Regions from separate parts of the Homo sapiens genome. Here region 2 is linked to region 1. The links are contacts of gene promoters, found by promoter capture Hi-C in human tissues and cell types (Jung and others, 2019). All regions are on one chromosome and are shown on one strand. Each heading gives the region's core, a stretch centred on a gene start or on the middle of the fragment in contact. The rest is flanking DNA. Distances are from core to core; before and after follow the strand shown.

Region 1 (6,492 bases), core at 2,812-5,311:
TGGTTTGAATGTTGGTGTCCCCCCAAAATTCTTATGTTGGAACCCAATGCCCAATGTGACACTATTAAGAAGTGGGGCTTGTGGGAAATGATTAGGTCATGAGGACTCCACCCTCTTGAATGAGATTAGTACCCTTGTAAAAGAAGCTCAAGGGCTGGGTGTGGTGGCTCATGCCTATAATCCTAACACTTTGGGAGGCTGAGGCCAGCGGATCACTTGAGTCTGGGAGTTTGAGACCAGCCTGGGCAACATGGTGGAACCCCATCTCTACAAAAAATACAAAAAATTAGCCAGGAGTGGTGGTGCATGCCTATAGACCCAGCTACTCTAAAGGCTGAGGTGGAAAGATCAGCTGAGCCCAGGTATGTCGAGGCTGCAGTGAGCCATGATCGTGCCACTGCACTCTAGCCTGGGCGGAGAGTGATAACTTGTCTCAGAAAAAAACAAAAACAAAAACAAAAGAACTCGAAAAGCTTGAGCGAACTGCCTTGCCTCTTCCACCTTGTAAGGACACAGCAAGAGGTGCCATCTATGAAGCAGCGAGCCCTCACCAGACATTGAATCTGCTGGCACTTTGATCTTGGACTTCTTAGCCTCCAAAACTGTATGCAATAAATTTCTGTTGTTTACAAACTACCCAATCTAAGGTATTTTGTTACAGCAGCCTGAAGTAAGACATATATGAACATATATATATATATATATATATATATGAAGTGCTAAATATAAAACAATCCAAGGGCTATCACAAGGTGGGCACACAATTGCTAAATGTAATTTACACTAGCATTTCTCAAGTCTGTTCATCAAAACATGGAGAACATTAAAAAAATTACAGGTCCTCTATACCTCCTTCCCTGCCTTCAGTATTCCTGATATGAAAGTTACGAAATTTTTTTTTTTTTTTTAAACAGAGTCTTGCTTTGTCTCCCAGGCTGGAGTGCAGTGGTGTGATCTTGGCTCACTGCGACCTCCATCTCCCGGGTTCCACAAATTCTCCCTCCTCAGCTTCCCAAGTAGCTGGGATTACAGGCACGTGCCACCATGCCTGGCTAAATTTTTTTGCATTTTTAGTAGAGATGAGGTTTCACCTTGTGGTCCAGGCTGGTCTTGAACTCCTGACCTCAAGTGATCCTCCTGCCTCGGCCTCCCAAAGTGCTGGGATTACAGGCATGAGCCACTGCGCCCGGCCCAAAATCTAGGAATGTTTTTAAAGCTCCCTGGATAATTCCAATGTATAAACAAGACTGATAACTAGGTGTAGTGGCTCACGCCTGTAATTCCATCACTTTGGGAGGCCAACGCAGGCAGATTACTTGAGCGCAGGAGTTCGAGACCAGCCTAGGTAATATGACGAAAACCTATCTCTACAAAAAATAAAATTAGCAGGGCATGGTGATGCACGCCTGTGGTCCCAGCTACTCAGGAGGCTGAGGTGGGAGGATCACTTGAGTCCGGGAGGTCGAGGCTGCAGTAAGCCATTGGCTTAGAGGAGCTAGACAGACGAGTGAACAGGAGTCAGGGAGGTCTTATTGAGGAGGAATGTGGACAGACATTGCAGAAGTAGGAGTGAGGCTATCAGAAAGGAGGAAGCAGAACATTTTATATAGGGAAGAGAATAGTAAAAGGACTCTGGAAATAGCTGTGGCTTATTTTTTTATTTTTATTAAAATGGAGTCTCACTCTATCACCCAGGCTGGAGTGCAGTGGTGTGATCTTGGCTCACTGCAACCTCTGCCTCCTGGGCTTAAGCGATTCTCCAGCCTCCTGAGTAGCTGGGATTACAGGCATCTGCCAGCACGCCCAGCTAATTTTTGTACTTTTAGTAGAGACGAGGTTTCACCATGTTGGCCAGGCTGGTCTTGAACTCCTGACCTCAGGTGATCTGTCCACCTCAGCCCCGAAAGTGCTGGGATTACAGGTGTGAGCCACTGCATCCGGCCAGCTGTGGCAGACAGGATGAGACTGTCTCAAAAACAAAAATAAAAAACAACCATGCTTAGGCCCTACTCCCAGAGATTCTGTTCATTTGGTATGGGGATGAGGTCTAGCCATTCGTAATTTATAAATCTCCCTACGTGATTTGAAATGTGCATCCAGAGTTGAGAAACATTGAAAAGGCTTAGAGCAATGGCCAGGTTTATTTCCTTCTTGTGGGTTTTGCACTAGCTGTTCCCTTTACCTGGTATGTTCTTCTCTAGGTCTTTCCATGAATCCTTGTTGTCATTCAGGACTCAGATTAAATGTTACTTCCTCAGGAAGACCTTCCCTGATCCCCCAACAAGCTAAAATAACACACCTACATTTATCACACTGTCTTGCTATTAATAGCAGTTCCTGAGATTTCTCTATTTATGCTTATTGTCTGTTTTTTTCCAACTGTCATATAAGCATCTTGAGTAAAGGCACTTTGTCTTATTCACTGCTGTATCCCCAGCACTTAGAACAGTGCCTGGCCCCTATAGGTATTCCAATATATGTGAATCAAAGAGAAAAAGGTCCTTTAAAATAAATTATTTTAGTTCTTCCGATGGCTGTTTTCTTTTCTTTTCTTTTTTTTTTTTTTTTTGATAAGAGTCTCTCTGTTGCCCAAGCTGGAGTGCAGTGGTGTGATCTCGGCACACTGCAACCTTGGCCTCCTGGGTTCAAGCGATTCTCCTGCCTCAGCCTCCTGAGTAGCTGGAATTACAGGCGCCCACCACTACCCCCGGCTAATTTTTGTATTTTTAGTAGAGACAGGGTTTCACCATGTTGGCCAGGCTGGTCTCGAACTCCTGACTTCAGGTGATCTGCTCGCCTTAGCCTCCCAAAGTGCTGGGATTACAGGCGTGAGCCACCTCGCCTAGCCCTGACGCGTATTTTCAACTGGCTTTTAATAAAATGTGTTTTAATTATGCAACATAATTGAACCACCCATGAAAAAAGCACACACTGATTTTTTGTAAATATATCTTAATTGCACTGGGTTCATTCTCTTCACAGGAATCTATATTAAATCTGTTGCAAAGCAAGTAATTATCCTTTAATGTATTTTTATACATGGTATTTGTTCCTAATGTTGCTTCTTAGGGAATACAGTTCACATAGTAGGGCAGCTGGGTATGGCAGGATACATTTATTAAATCAAGGGATTGCTGCTTAGAACTTTTGTGTTTGTTTTTGGAGACAGAAGACAGGAAACTGTAATTTTTAGAAGAGTAAAAAGGTATCTCAGGGAGCAAAAGAATCACAGGAAAACTCGAAGGCTCTGATTCCTTCTAAAAGAGGGACACATTTACCCTCTATTCTTCTGGGGGCACCTCTTTAACAAATGAATGTAATCTGGCGGAAGTGGGGAGTTTCAATTTTGGGTGGAGATACAGTAGTTGAGATTACTACAGTGTCTTGTTTCGTAGAGGTGTAAGCCAGTGCGGCAAAATCTCCAAGCTTGGTCTCAAGGAGGCAGCTGGGTCTAACTTACAACTCAGGCAGGTGATTTGAGGGCAGTGCAGCTGTCCTTAAGTCACCCGCGGGCCATTTCTGAAATGCTTTACTTACGAAAAGATAGAACATAACATCTGTTGCAGGGGGAAAATGAGATTTCGTGTCCTGACCCGCGTCTGCGGCAGGGACCTGAGTTCTTCCTCCAAGTCCCAAATAGCCAACCTTCGCCCCCGGCAACAGGGCTAGGTGCACGAGCAACCAGTTTTTCAGGCAGCCGCCTCCTCTTTCCTCTCTCGCCGTACTTCATCGATTACGGCTAGAAACAAAACGACTTTGTATACGGAGTAATGGTTGAAATCTCACTGGCGCCTCAGCAGGACGGGCAGCCAGATCCGCGGCTTTGGAGAAGGCCAGCCCACGGTCGTCCGACTGAGGCGACTTGAGCAAGACCAAAGGCAGAGCCGCCCGAGAATGAAAGCAGCGAAGCCCGAGTGGCGGTGCATTCTGGGAGTTGTAGTCCCTGCGAGACAACGCCGTCCCGACTCCACCAGGCTCTGCACTCCATCTCCCAGCCGACCCCGCGCCGCGGAGGAGGCGAGCTTGGTGATGAGCTGCCCCAGCGGTAGGGGGCCTGGGGCGGAGAAGCCGCTACAGCCGCGGCCGGGCGACGCTGACATCTGGCATCCCTGGGGTCTCAGAGACACGGGTGGACAGCGACGAGGGCCTTGTGGCCGCCGTGTGTACCCGTGCTTACCCTCTGTCCTCCCTACAGGCGCGCGGCGTCCGCCATGGAAGCGCATCCGACCGCTGGGGTCTCTGGGTGCCGCGGCCTCGGCTCTCCGGGGCGATGAGGGACTAGAGGCGCCCTGAGGCCCGCCTGCCTCCCGCGCTCTGGCCACCCCGGCGGGAAAAGGATCGGGCGGGCGGGCGGTCCCACAGTGCCCGCCTTTGCGCCGCCCCACCCCCTGGGGGCGCTGCCGAGGGGGCGCCAGCCGCCCATGCCGCCCCGGCGCCCAGCCGCGCCTGGCGCCCGCCGCTGAAGCGCAGGACGCGCCGCCGCCCGCGCTCACCGCCGTCCGCGCCAGCCGCCCCGAGCCGACTGCCCTTCTGCCCCCAAGATGTGGCACAGCGTCGGGCTGACTCTGCTTGTGTTCGTGGCCACGCTGCTGATCGTCCTGCTGCTGATGGTGTGCGGTGAGTGGGGGCGGTAGCCGCGAGGCAGTTCCACACGCCGGGTCGCTGATCTGCTGGGGTTTTTTTTGTTGTTTGTTTTTTTGAAAAAAACAAAAGGGCGTGGACGGACAATTGTCTTAAAATCAACTGTTGTCCCTTAGCCTCTAGGGCTGAGCGCAGAGGTGGGCCCTTTACTCATGGCCGGCCCTCGGGCATCCTGGGGAGGGAAAGGACAGGCTCCAGGGCTTCCTGCCTCTGAGTGAAACTCAGCCTTGCTTCACCGGCAGCGTCTGCTCTTTCATTCTCACCACAGGCTGCCCAGATTGTAACCTTGGCCTGCATTCGAAGGTGAAGTGATTGATTGGTCCTTTTTCATTTGCACAGATTCTGACCTTAATAATGAGAGGTGTCACCTTCGTTTCATCAGCGAGTGGGGTAGAGTTGGGTTTTCAGCACGCGTGAAATTGTTTACTTAGAGTTCAGCCTTAAACTCAATTCCAAGCAGAGATGTGGAGACCAGGCAGAGCTTAGAAACACCGGCTATATTAAACTTGCAGGGTCGGGTAACCTAACTCTCAGTTCTATAATAATGGTGCTATTTCGAATGCTGTGCGTATTTTCCTTCTTGGAATGAGAGGACGTTCAACTTTTTTCTTCAAATAATGGTAGCCCAATTTTAGATCTTTTTGATTTCTTTGTACATGTATAGTAGCTGATAACCACAGGTCTCTTAGCAAAGTGGCTAAGCAATTGTGAAAATCTAAAAAGTACGTAGAACACGTGTCAGTGAGTTTACACATATTTATAAGACTGAAGTATGGGTTCAGGTTGATGTAATAATGGGTCAGAATTCATACAGATACTATAGGGCTTGTTCATTACACGATAAATGTACAAATTAATACTTAGTGACGCTGTGGAATATATGTGTGCACTTGTGCATATGCATGTGTATGTATTTATAAACTTATATGTTTATTTTATTTTTTGAGATGGAGTCTCGCTCTTGTTGCCCAGGCAGGAGTGCAATGCAGTGGCCTGATCTTGGCCCACTGCAACCTCTGCCTCCTGGGTTTAAGTGATTCTCCTGCCTCAGACTCTCGAGTAGCTGTAGCCGGGATTACAGGTGCCCGCCACCATGCCCAGCTAATTTTTGTATTTTTAGTAGAGATGGGGTTTAACCGTGTTGGTCAGGCTGGTCTTGAACTCCTGACCTCATGTGATCTACCCGCCTTGGCCTCCCAAAGTGCTGGGATTACAGGCATGAGTCACTGCATCCGGCCTTGTATGTATGTTTAAAATTTGTTGTGCTTTTCTGTAACACCAGGTTAAAGCTTCTAATTTACAGCCTTTCTTTTCTGATGAGATAAAGCAATTGAATAACCTTTCTCAATTTTCTGCTTGTGATATCAACAAGCAGAAGAATATTAGAATATTGAACTAATTGTAGATGTTTAAGGTTCTTGAAGTAAGGAAAACAAAATCCTTGTGATATGTTTGGATGTGGGGAAGGAGGGAAAGCATTTATTACCCTTTCTAGTTTGAAAATGCGAGCTACCTGGACATGGGAATGAATGTGACACGTAGACCCTACCATACCTTCACTAGGATATTTGCCAAATTTACCTTTATGGCTTCAGAAATCCAAATTGCTCTCTCATCTCTAAACAGCTGTTTGATGGTTTAATTATACACATTTTTCTAAAAGTGCTTTTAGTTTCAGAAACATTAAGGAATAAGAGAGATGAGGTGTGCTAGGACAGCAGTCCCCAACCTTTTTGGTACCAGGGACTTGTTTTGTGGAGAACAATTTTTCCACAGACGGAGCAGGGATGGTTTTGGGATAAAATTATTCCAGCTCAGATCATCAGGCATTAGTTAGATTCTCATAAGGAG
Region 2 (6,492 bases), core at 2,244-4,743, 1.5 Mb after region 1:
CCCAGCTAATTTTTTGTATTTTTTAAGTAGAGACAGGGTTTCACCATGTTAGCCAGGATGGTCTCGATCTCTTGACTTTGTGATCCGCCCGCCTCAGCCTCCCAAAGTGCTGGGATTACAGGCATGACCACCGCGCCCGGCCTATCACTATTCCTTAGAGTGCAGTTGTATTTTAGTTTCTTCTGTGTACGTGTGATATACTCCACAATGAAAATAAACAAATCTATACTTACCATGGCCTTCTCATGTCCAGAAACCCCTCGAAATACCCTTATCCTTTACCGCTGGACCATTTGGGTGGGAAATGATTACAAAGCCCTATCTTAAGCTTCATCAATGTGATGGATTAGTTTTAAGGTTTGAATGAACAAGATGATAGAAAATGAGAGAGCGCACTGGCTCCCCAGGTGGGCACAGAGGCTCAGAGGATAGGAATTTAGTGAGTGCCACTGTCAACATACTTCACATAGTTGGCAGTTTTGCCTAACATGGTCTCTGCCTGCAGAATTGCCACAAGTTGGAAATCCCACATCAGTCACCACTTCCTCGGGGACATTAGTTGTTCATGTAAATTCCGAACAATGGAAGCTGGCTTTTCATCCATACGGAAATGGAACACAAAGACAGAGCCCTAGAAGTGGAGTGTGAGTGCTGAGGATTTTCCCTAAGCCTCTTCCCTTCCACATGTGTTGATGTGTGATGTGTTGGTTAAGTATTTGGAAAGCACATCAGGTTTTAGTAATTTTTTTTCTCTAAAAAGAACAATTTGCTCTTAGAAGAATGACAGTTTTCTTTCCTTATTACATGAAATCACCCTCTGACCCCCTAAAAAGCAGAGATCTTTTGTAGGGATACACACAAGTGTGAAAAACTGAAAAGCAGAACTGGTAATAATGGACAGAAAATTAAAGAGAGCTGTCACCTCTGTCAAGGGGAAGGAGGACATGATCATGGAGATTTACTAGGTGAGGAAGGTGGTTCTGAAATACTGGCAATATTCTAGTTCTTAAGTGTTATTCTTTAAATGGCACATAAACGTTTCATAGTCTCCTTTGCATATATTGTATATTTCACAATACATTTTTATTTGTTTTATTTTACCTGAAGTTCTACCTAGTTGCCAAAAAAAAGCAGAAGTAAAAAAAGCTTTGCCAAAGAACCAGGATCAGAACCAAGCAGACCAGTAGGAGAGAGGTTTTTCTTTTTTTTAAAATTTTTAACTTCTAATTTTTGTGGGTATGTAGTAGCTGTATATATTTCTAGGTTCCAAGAGGTGTTTCGATACAGGCATGCAATGTGACATAAGCACATCACAGAGAATGGGGTATCCGTCTCCTCAAGCATTTATCCAGAGAGAGATTTTTCATGTACACCAGTACTCTTCTTTTCAGGTTTCAGCCTTTTAAATACATAACTTTCACAAGAGATGTTTTGAATGTTTTCCCTTGACCTTGAGAAAGAAAAGCATTTGCTGAGATGTTGCCTATGTGTGAAAGGGAGGGGAATCCTAGAGGAGAGGCCACTGAGTTTGCCACCCAGTTGACGCATAAGAAGCAACTTGAGAAGGACTCCAAAAGCAGCAGGTCAGCAAGTGGAAACCAGCATTGAATCAGCTGAATGGGTACCTGGAAGTGGGGTGAATGTTAAGTGTCAGTTTGCCTGCAATCGCCCCCGCTATGTATTCCTGTCCCAGAGTAATCATTAACAGCACTCCTGTTAGTGGCAGCAAATTTGTATGGGTCTGCAGCAACCTCAGCTCTCGCCTCCTCAGAAGAAAGCATTCAACTGAGGGGCCTATAGCAGAGTAAGAGACCGAGGCAAGTTTGAGAGCAGGAGTGAAAGCTTATTAAACAGCTTCAGAACAGGAACAAAAGGAAATAAAGCACCCTTGCAAGAGGGCCACGTGGGCAACTTGAGAGCTCAAGAGCGCTATTTGACTTCTGACTTGGGGTTTTATATGTTGGCACGTTTCTGAGGAGTTGTGCCTCTTCTCCCCTGAGCCTTTCCTTAGGGCAGCCTGTCTGCATGAGCAGTGACCTCCCAGCTCTTGGGAGGGGAGGTGCCGTGTGTTTACTGGAGTTGTGCGCATGCTCACTTGAAGCATTCTTCCCTTATCAGTCGAGCGTTCCCATAAGGTCATATCCAGTTAAACTCTGCCATTTTGCCTCTTAGTTTACAGGTGTCAGCCCACTTGCCCAGCTCCTGAGATCTTACTGGGAAGCTGCTGATCACCAGTTTCAGGTGTTTCTATTGAGAGACTGCCTTTCCCTGCATGGGTTGCAACCAATGATTGTTTTAGAGAGACAATTGACAACTGCCTGACCATCACCTGACGGTTGTTTGACTTTCCCATGCGGGGGAGTGGGGAAGCCTCTCTTGCTCTGCTCATCTCTGCCTGACTACCTACTGTAACACTTCTTTCACTTTCAAAAGTGTCCCAATTTGACCATAAATAATGTGGTTAACCCGTACATAAAGGAAGAAATGTAATGTGCTGTGGGAGGAGAAGGGCTCATGCAGGAAGACCTCTTAAAAAGGGACTATCTAGGGCTTAGATGCTGTGGCTCTAATTGGCAAAGAAGTGTGGTAAAACTTTTAAAAAAAATATTAAAGAGAGGAAAAGAAGGAGAGAAGGAGGAGGATAATTATTTTTGTGTTTATTTAGATCTATACAAAGAAACACACAATGGAAGTAGTAATTTCTTTGACCAACTTTTCTTCTGCTTTGAGCTTCTGAAGAGCATGCCTGGGCTTTCTTTCACCTCAATTTCATTTTCATCTGAGATAAGTAAAAGATATATGGGAACTGGCATTATCTAAGTTAATTTAGAGATTAGGGTGAGTTCATTTCCAGCTCTTCATCTTGCCTGTGGAGGAAAGGCTGGAAGCTTCCTACTCTTTCACATCACAGAGCTTGTGACCTGTAATTTTTGCTGTTTCTCAATCTGCATTCTTGTAGCTTTGTTCATTAATGGAATGCTGTAATTTATGAGCTTTCCTCTTTTGACCCTTTAAGAGAACTTTATCAGCATTCTCTAATTTTATTAACAAAACAAAAGAAACTATTTTTAGGAACGATGATCACATAAGGCTGAACCCAGACCATCCCAAGCAGATGTTGCGGTCCTGCAAAGTGGTCCCGTGAGGTAGTTGCTCCAACACGTGGTCTCAGCTCAGAAGTCACTGTTTTTGCAAACGTTGTCCTTAAAGGAGGAACAAGGTGCAGAACTTTTGTTTCTCTTTTCCTTTCTTTTGAAATATCAATTTGCCTATAACCATAGGGTAAATAACAGTCTATAGGAAAAAGGGGAAGCGATGTAGAGTTAAACAGAGGAAGGAGTAAGCAGAAAAAGTAACAGGTCACACAGAAACCAAGAAACTACAAGTTATAATGATGGTGGTTCCGTTTTCTTCCTGCATCTATGATTTCGAAACGGGCTAAATTGGGATGGGTAAGATCTAATTGGGATTCCCCCCAGATGCAACATCTTTGTGAATTTGTGGATGGGACCAGATAAGAAACTCGTGGAGGAAGGAGATTCAAATGAGCAGATTTCAGTATCCTTCAGGCAAACCCAGCCTTGAGTATTTCTCAGCTTTTGGAGATCCCAGGAAAAACATAAATGATGGAGTCACTAGGAGATAAACAATGTAATTTGACTCAAGAGAATGGGCAGAAAATCAGACACCCTAGGAGAAAAAAACAACCTGCTATTTGTAAATTTATTCATGGTGGTCAAGATCAATAACAGCAATCAAACGGTTTAGTTGCACGGAGGAAAACTTTATTTACTGGTCCCAGGCATGCTAAGCTCTGCACACAGATTTCCTGGGTGCAGGAGGATCACCTAGAATTAATTGTAAAAAGTTGCATCATATCCAAGACGTATTTGTCAGCAAAAAGACTCACACAAGAGGTTTAAACTGATGAATACCCACTCTGATGGCTCAGTAAATACTATCAGTGATGCCTTAATTTTTCTTGGTTTTAAGGATGTCTTTCTTCTATATAAGCACTTCATTTCTCCCTTTTAGTTGCTTCATACAAGAGTAATCAATTGATATGTTAGACTTTCACTGGACATTTCATGGCAAAAGGAATATTGACCCAGTATTGACATTAATAATACACATAAAGGAGAATGGCAGGCAAACCTACAAAAATCTCTCCCTATCAACACAGACTCCAGCAAAGGTCATAGGAGAGTGGAGCATTTACAGAGAGGTGAAAAGTATTGACAGAGATTAGCATGGAGCAGGGAAGAGAGACATACAATTTGTGTTTTAGAGCATGGCTGTCCCTCATATACATGCTTGTTCAATTTTTATTAAGGCAATGTACCAAGTGTTTATTTTTTTCCCTACTCCTCCAAATAATGAGCAAGGTCATCTCTTTCCCAGAATGAAAAATGTGGTGATGGTGGCTTCCTCCCTGAGAAACTAGCTGAGCCTATTAGCAGGGAAGCCACCCAGAAGGAAGGCTTCCACGTGTCAGGATGGATTCTTTCTCTGTAATATTTGAGCTCATTTGCTTCTCCAGGCAAATAGTAGTGTCTCTCCTTTTTAAAACAAATACACTTGGGAGGAGTCTTATTTTAAGTGTTGTTGACTTTTGGATTAATTATTAAGGTGGTGTTTGGGACAAATTAGAATATAGTCAGCTGAGGGCAAAGATGACTGTTTCAGAAGGGGAAGGCTATTGATGGGTACGGGAAGTGGAGCTGAAGAGAGATGGCAGAGACATCAGGAGACAGAAGATGATGGAAGAGAAGAGAAGTGGGAAGAAGATGAAGATGAATTTCTCTGATTAAAACATTTTATCTAAATTAATTCTAGCCATTCTTCTGGGAATTCGCTCATGCTCTTCCTTGCAATGTGTGTTCCTGGGGCAGACATTTATTGACCAGCTGCAGTGTTCCAGGCACTTTACTCAAACCTAGCGATTCAAAAGTGAGTAAGTTATAGGGATGGCTTCTATAACAGATAACATGCTAGAGGAAATGGCATCTAATGTGAGCTTTGAAGAGTGAATAAGCATTCACAAAGGAGGCAGTAGTGTGGAGCAGGACAGGGCCATTTGTGATTCCCAACTCAAATGAACACTCAAACATTGCTTGCACTTTTTTCAACTCTTCCTCAGAGTCACTAACTCTATACTTTGTAGTGCTGAGCCTTCAACGCTGCCCTATATCTATTTACTGTCAGGAAATAAACTAATTTTCTGTTTCTCGAAAAAAGAGAGACCACCGTTCATGAAAATCTTCCATTTATTTTTGCCATCACCTATCCATCCATATCTCCCTCCACCCCATCACCTGGTCTCATAGGAAAATGTATTCCCTCTTCCTCCTAGATAAAACCCAGCCTTTCTTCAAGTCACTGAGACCTGGACCTTTCACATCTCACCTGGAAGCTATGAAATCATCATCTCCATTATCTTTGCATCTTTATCCTCTTCCTTAGGTTCAGCATGAACAAAAGCTCAGCTCCTCTCCATTTCAAAAAGCAAACATGCATATGCACACATGCACACGCACACACAGAAAAACTCTTATTAAAATAATCCCAATCTGTTTTTCCCCTACCAGTACTTAGATTGTTTTATTAATCTCCTCATTGAAAAATCAATGAACTCATCTTAATTCTCATTCTAATTGATCTTTCTGCACCATTGTATATTGCTGATCTTTTCTTCCTTCTTAGAATGCTCTCCTTTCTAAGTAAGATACTCATGGAATACTCTCCTTTCTGAAATATTGACTCTTTACCAGTTCCCTTCCTTTTAGCTGTCTCCTCCTGACTTATTAGTCCTTATCCCTTAAATGTTCGTAGTCTCCAGGGTTCAGACCTTGACCCAATTCTCACTCCATTACCTTTCCCAAGCAATTTTATTCACTTGTAGGGATTACTTTCTCTGACTTCTCACACCAAACCAACAGCAATTTATGTTAGATCTTCCTTCCTAACATTAATCAATTCTAACCTCCTCTCTACATCCCATCTACTGTCACTACTCAGCTTTGGCCATCCTCATCTCCCACCTGGTTTAGAATAAAAGCCTCCTAATGCATCTCTCTGCCTCTTCTGGCCACCCTCCAATTCTTTAAAGCTGTGCAAGAGTGATGTTTCTAAGCGATAAATTTTATCTCTCTGCTATCCTTCTTAAAACACTTGAGCGGCTCCTCAATGCTTTCAGAAGAAAGTCCATATCCTTAATCAAAATTCTCACTGTGATGCAGCAAATTATTTAAGACTTTTCACAATATACTTTTCTGATGTCTCCTCCCCTTCCTTACCCACCAAGCATACACTTGGAAAGATTTTTCATCGTGATTTTTCAATCATGCCATGGTTTTCAAACCTCGTGCTTTTGCTTCTGCTTAAAGTTGAGCCTGGAATACCTTAAATTTACTTACTTGAAAAAATTGCATTTATTCTTCAAAATACAAATAAAATACTTCCTCTCTGAAGCATTTCTTGATATTCCTCCTT

What was found. The method cuts DNA at HindIII sites, captures the fragments that hold promoters and counts their contacts. A contact is called where the count stands out against the background at its distance.
Region 2: a contact is called between a fragment that was not itself captured here and the fragment with the promoter of SMIM13 in region 1, in 1 of the 25 tissues and cell types used here (spleen).

Annotation. Positions count from the first base shown.
Region 1 is chr6:11,089,773-11,096,264 of GRCh38, forward strand. It overlaps SMIM13 (small integral membrane protein 13), which reads left to right and starts at 4,062. Exons shown (of 2, transcript NM_001135575.2): 1 at 4,062-4,617. The coding sequence starts at 4,542. RefSeq lists enhancers at 3,669-4,209, 3,752-3,961, 4,210-4,751, 4,632-4,751 and a silencer at 4,222-4,531. The HindIII fragment of the contact is 6,020 bases long and covers 1,950-6,492 here.
Region 2 is chr6:12,592,320-12,598,811 of GRCh38, forward strand. No RefSeq gene overlaps it. Among named protein-coding and RNA genes, the nearest start is that of LINC02530, 10 kb to the left of the region's middle. The HindIII fragment of the contact is 5,512 bases long and covers 738-6,249 here.